Linked DNA regions of Homo sapiens: region 2 is linked to region 1. Evidence: promoter capture Hi-C in human tissues and cell types (Jung and others, 2019). All regions are on one chromosome and are shown on one strand. The core of a region is centred on a gene start or on the middle of the fragment in contact, and the rest is flanking DNA. Distances in the headings are between cores, read along the strand shown.

The links. The method cuts DNA at HindIII sites, captures the fragments that hold promoters and counts their contacts. A contact is called where the count stands out against the background at its distance.
Region 2: a fragment that was not itself captured here is called in contact with the fragment with the promoter of WNT7A in region 1 in 2 of the 25 tissues and cell types used here (H1 embryonic stem cells and pancreas).

Annotation. Positions count from the first base shown.
Region 1 is chr3:13,878,052-13,882,519 of GRCh38, reverse strand. WNT7A (Wnt family member 7A) reads left to right here and starts at 2,449. Exons shown (of 4, transcript NM_004625.4): 1 at 2,449-2,774. The coding sequence starts at 2,704. RefSeq lists enhancers at 2,471-2,972, 3,475-3,976. The HindIII fragment of the contact is 9,172 bases long and covers 1-4,468 here.
Region 2 is chr3:13,839,703-13,844,170 of GRCh38, reverse strand. All of the region lies in intron 3 of WNT7A (Wnt family member 7A), which reads left to right. Among named protein-coding and RNA genes, the nearest start is that of WNT7A, 38 kb to the left of the region's middle. The HindIII fragment of the contact is 5,404 bases long and covers 1-4,468 here.

The DNA of each region.
Region 1 (4,468 bases), core at 1,200-3,699:
GTAACAAGCATCCCCTCCAAACTTAGTGGCAAAATAATCATTATATTCACAAGTTATAGGGCTCAGGAAGTTGGGCAGGGTACACTGGGGATACTACACGGCCACTGTCCACCATGCTTTAGCTTGGCAGACACAAAGCCAGCATGACATAATGGTGGAGGTACCTTCACCCACATTTCTGGCACCTGGGCAAGGTGACTCCAGTGCTGAACTCACCTGGGACTGTGGGCTGGAGCAAGCACAGGTGGCCTCTGCCTATGCCTGGGCTTCCTCACAGCATGGTGGCCTCTAGGCCTCTTCCATGGTGGCTCAGGGCCCCAGCACTGGTGCGCCAGCCAACAAAACAAAGACTGCATTGTCTTTTATCGCGAAGACTTGTAATTTTTGAGCATCACTTCTGCTACATCTTATTGGTGGAAGCCATCACAAGCCCACCCAGATTCACGCAGGCAGAGCACAGAGAACCCACTTCTTCATGGGAGGAGTGTCAAATAATTTTGTGGTCATGTTCTAAGAGCACCACCCTAACCCAAACTACCAATGTCTCACCTGGACCCCTACTGTCATCTCCTCTCTGGTCTGCTTGATGGCGCACTTTACTCACCTGTCCCCATTCCCACAGTGTGTTCCCTTAGGACAGCCACGGGGAGCTTTTGAACACACAAATCAGATCAGTCACCCCCTTCTTCATCCCTCCAATGTCCCCAGCTGAACACACCACTGAAATCCAAGCTCCTTGACGTGCCCACACAGCTTTGTGGATCTGTGTATCCCCATCTCCCTTCAAGCTCAGGCCTTCTCTCTCTCTCTATTGCAGCCCACCATCTCCTCCCTGGGGCTCATGCCCACCTCTGAGCTTTTGCACCTGCTGGTCCCCTTCCTGCAGTGCTGGACCCCTGATGCTGTGTCCTTCAGGCCTCACCTCAAATGCCACCTCCTCAGATCTAAAATTAACCCTCCAACACCCAGTATTCCCTCTCCCATCACCCTGCTTAATGGTCTACTATCTGCAACTCTGTTCTTGTTCACTTATCATCTGTCTCCTTCCTGGCCCCAAGAAGAAAGACTGTTGCCTTTCTTCTTCCTTGTGTCCACGGTGCCCACTATCGTGGTTGGCACAGAATATGGAATATGAATGAATACCTGAATGGTGGCTTTCGGGTGTGTGTGTGTGTGTGTGTGTGTGTAATTTAGAAAGGCAATCTTGAAGGATAGTCAGGACTGGGTGCAGGAGGTTACTACAGTTGGGCATACTTTGTTTCCCATATGGTTGTGCCACTCGCTAGCTGGTGACTCTGGGCAAACACCTTCACCTCCTTGAGCCTCAGTGTCTTCAGCTGAAACCTGAGTTCAGATTTGCCAGACCTGGGCATAGGGACAGCAGGTCCAGCAGGAACACCAAGCCAGGACCACAGCCACTCCCAGGGAGCTCAGTCCCTGGAGCCCGAGAGGAACACTCTCCGGAGGCGCAGGCGCAGCCGCTCCTAGAGACTGGGCAACCCCCAGGTGGCAGGCGGGACCGGTCCGTGCAAACAGGGAACAGGTACCCGGAGGATGGACATTCGCTGGCAAAAACATAAACTGCCGCTCGGAGTCTTGGCACCACCCAATTTCCAGGGACGGTTAGACTCCCCCTAGCTCACTGGATGAGGTGTACACCAAAGAAGGGTGTTAGCCCCCTCGGGTCGGCCAGGGCACTCAAAGCATTCTGTTCCCGGGAGCGAGGCCGAGGTGCACCACCCGCCGCGTCCGCCTGGTGACGCCGCGAGCGCGCTCTGAGCGGCCAGCTGCGCCCCTCACGCTCCCGCGGCTCAGGCGCCCCACTGCTGTTCCGCGCGGGGCAACTGGGCCTCAGCCCGACTCAGTCTGTCGGCTAACAGCAGGATCCCAGAGGAGGCTGCCCAACCTGGGCACCCCCTGCCGCCACTCTCGAATAGGTGGGAGTAGGGAAGAAATACACTGAGCCAGTCAGCCCGTCGCTCCGCGAAAGGGGGCGCCCTCCCCTGAAGCTGGGGTTGGGGAACTGGGGTGTGCCCTGTCAGCCCCAGCTCCCTGTTCCGGGCTGGAGGGAGCAGGGCAGCAGACCAAGGCACTAGGCCTCTCGGCCGAGTCTGGTCCACTCCACCCGAGGGCAGCCTCTGGACGCCCACTCGCCCTGCAATCTGCAAGTTAGTGACGGGTGGGGGGCGAGCGGGCTCCTACCGCCTCCAACCGGGCTGTGCTCCCCAGCCTGCCACCTGCACCCCGGAGCAGGGAGGGGGCCCCCGGGAGCGCGCATGGAAAGGCGCGAGCGCGCGCCTTGTGCAGGCGGCCCTGTCCCGCGGGCGCAGGGGCGCTGGGCGGGCGCTCCGGGGAGGCGGGCGGGGGAGGGGGCGGGGGAGGGACGGGGGAAAGGAGGGAGGGGCGGGGGCTGGAGGCAGCAGCGCCCCCGCACTCCCCGCGTCTCGCACACTTGCACCGGTCGCTCGCGCGCAGCCCGGCGTCGCCCCACGCCGCGCTCGCTCCTCCCTCCCTCCTCCCGCTCCGTGGCTCCCGTGCTCCTGGCGAGGCTCAGGCGCGGAGCGCGCGGACGGGCGCACCGACAGACGGCCCCGGGGACGCCTCGGCTCGCGCCTCCCGGGCGGGCTATGTTGATTGCCCCGCCGGGGCCGGCCCGCGGGATCAGCACAGCCCGGCCCGCGGCCCCGGCGGCCAATCGGGACTATGAACCGGAAAGCGCGGCGCTGCCTGGGCCACCTCTTTCTCAGCCTGGGCATGGTCTACCTCCGGATCGGGTAAGGGCTGCCTGCGCCCTTTCCGCGCGTGTTTCGACAAAGTTGGCACGGCCCGGGGAGGGAGGTGTGCCGCCTGCGAGCCTCTGCCGGCCAACTTCCACAGCTTCTCTGAGAGGCCGGGTGGGTGCGGTGTGGGAGCGGTGGACGCACAAAGGCCCCCCGCAGGACACCCCAGGAGATATAGGCAGGGGGACTGGCCATCCTGAGGACGTCTGAGTCTGGAATCCCCCAGGACCAGAGACAGCCGGTAGGGACGCTCCAGCCTGAGGGACTCTGGGGGAGGGCTAGCTGCTGCAAAGGTTCAGCCCATCCCGGGGACCCTTCGGACCCGGGCATAGGGACAGCAGGTCTAGCAGGAACATCAAGCCAGGACCACAGCCAATCTCGGGGAGCTCAGTCCCCGGAGCCCGAGACGAACTCTCTCAGGAGGCGCGGCACAGCCGTTCCTAGAGACTGGGCAGTCCCCAGGTGGCTGGCGGGGCCGGTCCGTGCAAACAGGGAACAGGTACCCAGGAGGAAGGACATTCGCTGGCAAAAACATAAACCGCCGCTCGGAGCCTTGGCACCACCCAATTTCCAGGGGCCCTTAGACTCCCAGAGCCCCTTCCCGGGCCAAGGGGACAGCACGTCCCACCCCCAACAAACACACACAAAGGTGGGACGAGAGGCGGTCTGAGACACAGAGGGAGACAAGCGCTAGAGAGAGGCGGGACACCCCGCCCCCTGGAACTGGGCAGCAGAGGCGGCCGGGCGCGCGAGCAGCCCTCCGGCTTCACCTAGCGTTTCTGTGGAGGTGGGGCTCGGGGGCGCTCTGGCTGGAAGGTGGGAGGGGGCAGCTCGGGACGCGTCCTGGAGCTGCTTGTGCAAAGCCGGTCACCCTTTGTACTTAAGACAACGCGTGTGAGGCTCGGAGCGGTGTGGGGGCGGGGGGATCTGGGCATGGATAGAGGTTCTGGCGCTGAAGGGCCCGCTTGGTAGGTCTCACACACCCTGCCCCTCCAGCCCCCAGCAGTGAACCCATTACCATCCCTTTTGAGGAGGGGTGGACCGCAGGGGCTGCGGCGAGGGGATGTGCGTGGCAGACCCTTTGTGTTTTGTCACTACTACCCCCCTACCCCGTCACTTCCCCAGTCCACGTCTCTGGAGCGGGGATTTCGCAAGTTGTCCGGCCGCGGCCGCTAGCAGGTGCGTGCAGAGCCGACCAGGGGCCGCCAGCCCGACCAGCGGCGGAGAGGCGGCTGCGGGGCTCGCGCCAGTACCGCCAGCCTGCCGGTGTGTTTTAAGTGTTATTGATTCGCCCGCGTCTGGGTGGCTTTCCTTTTTTTCCCCTGCTTTAATCTTCATCTTGGCCCGCGCCCCGCCGCCCCGCGCACATTCAGCATCCAGGAAGCCAGTAGGGCCGATTGGCTCGAGCCGATTGACTCGGGCCGCGTGCGGCTTTATCTCCTTTTTAATTAGAAACGGGGAGGAGGGACACGGGTGGCGGGGGAGACAGAAAGGGAAAACAGCAGAAAATAACCTCCCCTGGCCGCCCCGCCCGCCCGCGGGCCGCCCTCCCGCCGGCGCCGCGGCCTCCCCGGATTGGCCCTGCGGGGGCCCAGCTGCCCGGCAGGGAGGGAGGGAGGGAGTCCTGCAGGGCGCTGGCTTTCCGCCCCAAGCTGCCCTCTGGGGTAGGGAGAGGTCCAGGTCGGAGA
Region 2 (4,468 bases), core at 1,145-3,644, 38 kb after region 1:
CAACTCTGCAACCCAAGCTCTGTTCATCCTTGGTGCAGCCTCTTCTTAGCTCTCAATTGTGTGTGTGTGTATTTTTGGACCTAGATGGATTGGTAGCATTTTGAAATAATAAAGATTCCAACAAGGCCAGGCACGGTGGCTCCCGCCTATAATCCCAGCACTTTGGGAGGCCAAGGGTGGGTGGATCACCTGAGTTCAGGAGTTTGAGACCAGCCTGGCCAACATGGAGAAACCCATCTCTACTAAAAATATAAAAGTTAGCTGGACAAGGTGGCGGGCACCTGTAATCCCATCTACTTGGGAGGCTGAGGCAGAAGAATCAATTGAACCCAGGAGGCAGAGGTTGCAGTGAGCTGAGATTGCACCACTGCACTCCAGCCTGGGAGACAGAGTGAGACTCCATCTCAGGGGAAAAAAAAAAAAAGATTCCAACATGACATTGGTAAAACACTTTATGATTTGCATGACCTTTTTTTTTTTCAACATCTTTTCCTGGCCAAGTCTCACAGCTTTCCTCCAGGTGAGCAGTGTAATTGTGCCCGTTTTGCAGGTGAGGCAGCTGAGGCTCTGGTTGGGTACTGCTCAGTCCCCCGGAGGTGTTCTCTGCTGGGCTGAGAGTTTTGGATGGGAGGCAGGTCAGGAGCTCCTGGCCAGACCATGCGGGGAGGTGTGAATGACCTGGATGTGGAAAGAGCTCCGATCAGAGCCCCGACTGTGCCACTTGTTTGCTGTGTGCCCTTGGGCAGTCACCCTTCTCAAGCCTCAGTTTCCTCATTGAAAAAAAGGCAGTGAGGATTTGTACTTGTCAGAGCTGTTGTGCAGATTGCATGAGATAATGCCCCTGGAGTGCCTCGTCCTACGCTCTCAGGCATGATGAGTGCTTGGAAAGCAGTCATTGCTGTTATGAATATCATTGTTAGTATCAGTAGTAGTAGTGATTTTAAAGCCACAGTCAAGTTTTAATTCTTACATCTTATTCCTAAGGACTGTTCTAGCTCTAAAACTCTGTTTTGTCCATTCGCTGGCTGTAGAGTGTGCTAGCAGACTCAAGAGAAGGAGCGGTCCAGGTCGCCATTGAGATTTTTTGCTGCACTGAGCAGGGAGGGCCACAGGACACCAAGCCATGGCAAGGCCACGCTGGTCCTCCTTTATCCAAAATAGGTGATGTCCACCTAGGTCTTTCAGTCCTTGTGAGCAGCCACTTCCAGAGGGGGCCTCTGCCCTTGTCCTTTCAGCCCCATGCCACACATACCCAAGTACACACCACATTCCAGGACCTTTAAAGTTGTCCATAAAGTCCAGTCTCCAGCCCAGACCTGCCTCCCGAACACAAGTCCTGTGCATCCAGCTGCCATCCTGCCTCCCTGCTCCAGGATGTCTACTGGCCCATGAGCACTCGTCTACCACAACCTAACTCCTGATCTTTCTCCCACAAACTTGCTGGTGCCTTTGTCTCCATCCCCTGGTTCAGTAAATAGCATCTGCATCCTTCCAGTTGTGTAAGCCAAACCCTGGCCCTGGCCTTGGCCATGACACTTTTCTTTCTTTCACACCCCACATCCAACATGTCAGTTCTACCTACAACATCTGTCCAGAGTCTGTCACCAAATAACTTATACCCCCGAGCTCATGATCCAAGCCACCAGCCTCTCTTCCCTACAGTGACACAACAGTCCCCTGCCCCAGAGTCCTATTCACCAGCATCTCTTCCCTGACATTGCACAATTGTCCCCTTGCCCCAGGGTCCTATCCACCAGCATCTCTTCCTTGCAGTGGCACAACGGTCCCCTTACCCCAGGTTTCTACCCACCAGTATCTCTTCCCTGCAGTAGCAAAACAATTCCCTTACCCCAGAGTCCTATCCACCAGCATCTCTCCCCTGCAGTGGCACGACAGTCCCCTTACCCCAGGGTCTTATCCATCAGCGTCTCTTCCCTGTAGGAACACACCAGCCTACTAACTTGGGCCCCTGCAGGCTTTTCAAATGTCAGTTAAACTCTGCCTCCCTCACTTATAATCTCACCATGGCTCCCATCTCACCCAGAGTAGACACAGAAGCCTTCACGGTGGCTCACAGGCCCCTCCCTCACCCCTGTCTCCTTCCCCTTCGCTCTCTCTGTCCCCCTGCAGCGGTCTCCCTGTGGCTCCTCACACACACTGGGTATGTCCCTGCCCCAGGTCCCTTGCACTTACTGTTCCCTCTGCCTGGAATGCTCTCCCTGCAGACACTTACCCTCTCACCTCCTCAAGTCTTTTCTCAAATATCACCTCTCAAGGAGGCCTTTCCTGACCACCATATTTGAACTCACCCTCCAGTCTGTCTCGCTGCTTCCTGTTCCCTTCCACGTTTTGTTTTTCTGTGTAGCACTCATGGCCACCTGATATAATATTGGTACTTTGCCAAGTGATCCCAGTGTGGCTGGGAAAAGTTAGAGTGCCTGCTGTAGAAGGCCTCCTGTGGGAACGGCACAGGCCCAGACAGAAGCTTCCCTCCCACCTTTTCCCCTCTGTGCCTTCGATATTTGTTCCAGTGGGCCAGCAGCACATGAATATTTTATACCTGTACAGCTTTTGTCTTACTCCAGGCACTGTTCTAATTACTTCATACGCATGAATTCCTAAAATTCTCATAAGAACTCCATGAGATCAGCCTGGCATTGTCTCCCTTTTACAAATGAGGAAACTGAGGCACAGAGCGGTTCAGCGACTCGCCCAAAGTCATACAGTTGATAAGCAAAGAGCCAGGATATGAACTCAGGCAGTCCAGCTCCAGAGGCTGCATTCTTGCTCTACTTCCTCTCTTTTGTGTATTCATCCACTTATTCATTCATTAAGAATTTATAGAGTGTCTTCTTTGCCTTAGGTGCGACGTTTTAGAGACGAACAGATCACTAAAAACTGGTTCCTGCCATCAGGAAGCTTAGTCTAGTGGGAAACGCTGAACAAGTAAATAAGGGAAAAGGAAAATCATATTCATTCAGCAACCATTCACTGACGCCTGAGATTATTTCCCAGCCTTTAAAAAGTTAGAGGAGGCCAGCCCCTGGTGTATTCCCTGATTGTGTTCATTTCTAAGCCAGAGAGCCGAATCCCTATATGCCAGCTCTGTTTTAGGCACTGAGGTCTGAGATAAATAATATACCATTTTTGAATTTGAGGGGGATTACATTCTAATGACAGAAGGAGAAGAGTGAATTACTGCATGTAAATATGACAACATGAACTGGATTTGGTAGAGGAGTGTGTAGGGGACTATGGGACCCCAGGATAGGAGCTCTAACCATTTGGGGATTGGTTTGGATGAGTGCATGGCTGAGTGGTAGGATGAATGGATGGATATATAGATGGATGGATGGATGCATGCATGCATGCACAAATGGATAGATGGATGGATGGATATTTGCTAGATAGATAGTAATGGGAAGGCTGGTTGAATGAATGGAATATGAATGAATAGATGGATGGATGGTTAAACGGACAGATCTTAGAAGATGGTTGGATGGATGTTTGGGTAGTAGGATAGATGGATGGCTGAATGGGTGGATGGATGGATGGATGGATGGATGGATGGATGAATGAATAGCTATTTGGAAGGATGGTTGGGTGAATGGATGAGCAAAAAGCTGAGCTCACTGCTGGAAAGTTGGACATTTTCCCAGTGAGATCACCAGATCAGCTGAAAGAAAGGATGGAAATCCATGCATTCGTTCATTCATTCATTCAACAAATATTTATTAAGCACCTATTTATGCGTCTGGTACTGTTTTAGGCTCTGGGATTAGACATGGTACTTGCCTTTATGGAGCTGACATTCCGGGGGAAGGGAGACAACAAACAAATAATAGAATATATATATGGAATCTGTTGTCAGAGAGTTATAAATGCTATGATGAACAAACAAAGCAGGATGAGAGGGCACAGATGTCAGGAGCAGGGGCATTTTATTTTAGGCGATCAGGAGAGGCCTCCTGGAGAAGGTAAGTTCTGAACAGGAAGTGAGGAAATGAGCCATCTGGGGAATTGCATTTGAGTCAGAGGGAATTGCAAGGTCAGAGCCCAGAGGCAAAGAGGCCAGTGTGGCTGTCAGGGAGGAGAGGAGGTCACAGAGAGATGTGTTAGAGAGTGGGGAGTGCAGGGCCCTGCTTCCCTGTGAGAGAAGGGTTTGTCTGCATCTTGGAAGCCTGCGGAGGACATTGAACCCGGGCTGATCAGCGTTAGGAAGGGCACCACCCTCCCTGCACCCCTGCTTGCTGGTTCCCAGCCCTGCTCCCTCCTGGCTGCTTGGCAGTTGGGAGGCTGTCAGCATTTTAATTACAGATCCACGCTCTCAATGGTTTACAACTCAACTGTAAAACAGGCCCTGGGCAACATGTGGCACCTCTGAGTGATTTACTTGCTCACCATTTCTATATTTAGTGCCATTTAATGCTTGTTGGCCAAGTTTTCAGAGAGAAAAAGAAGGAGGAAT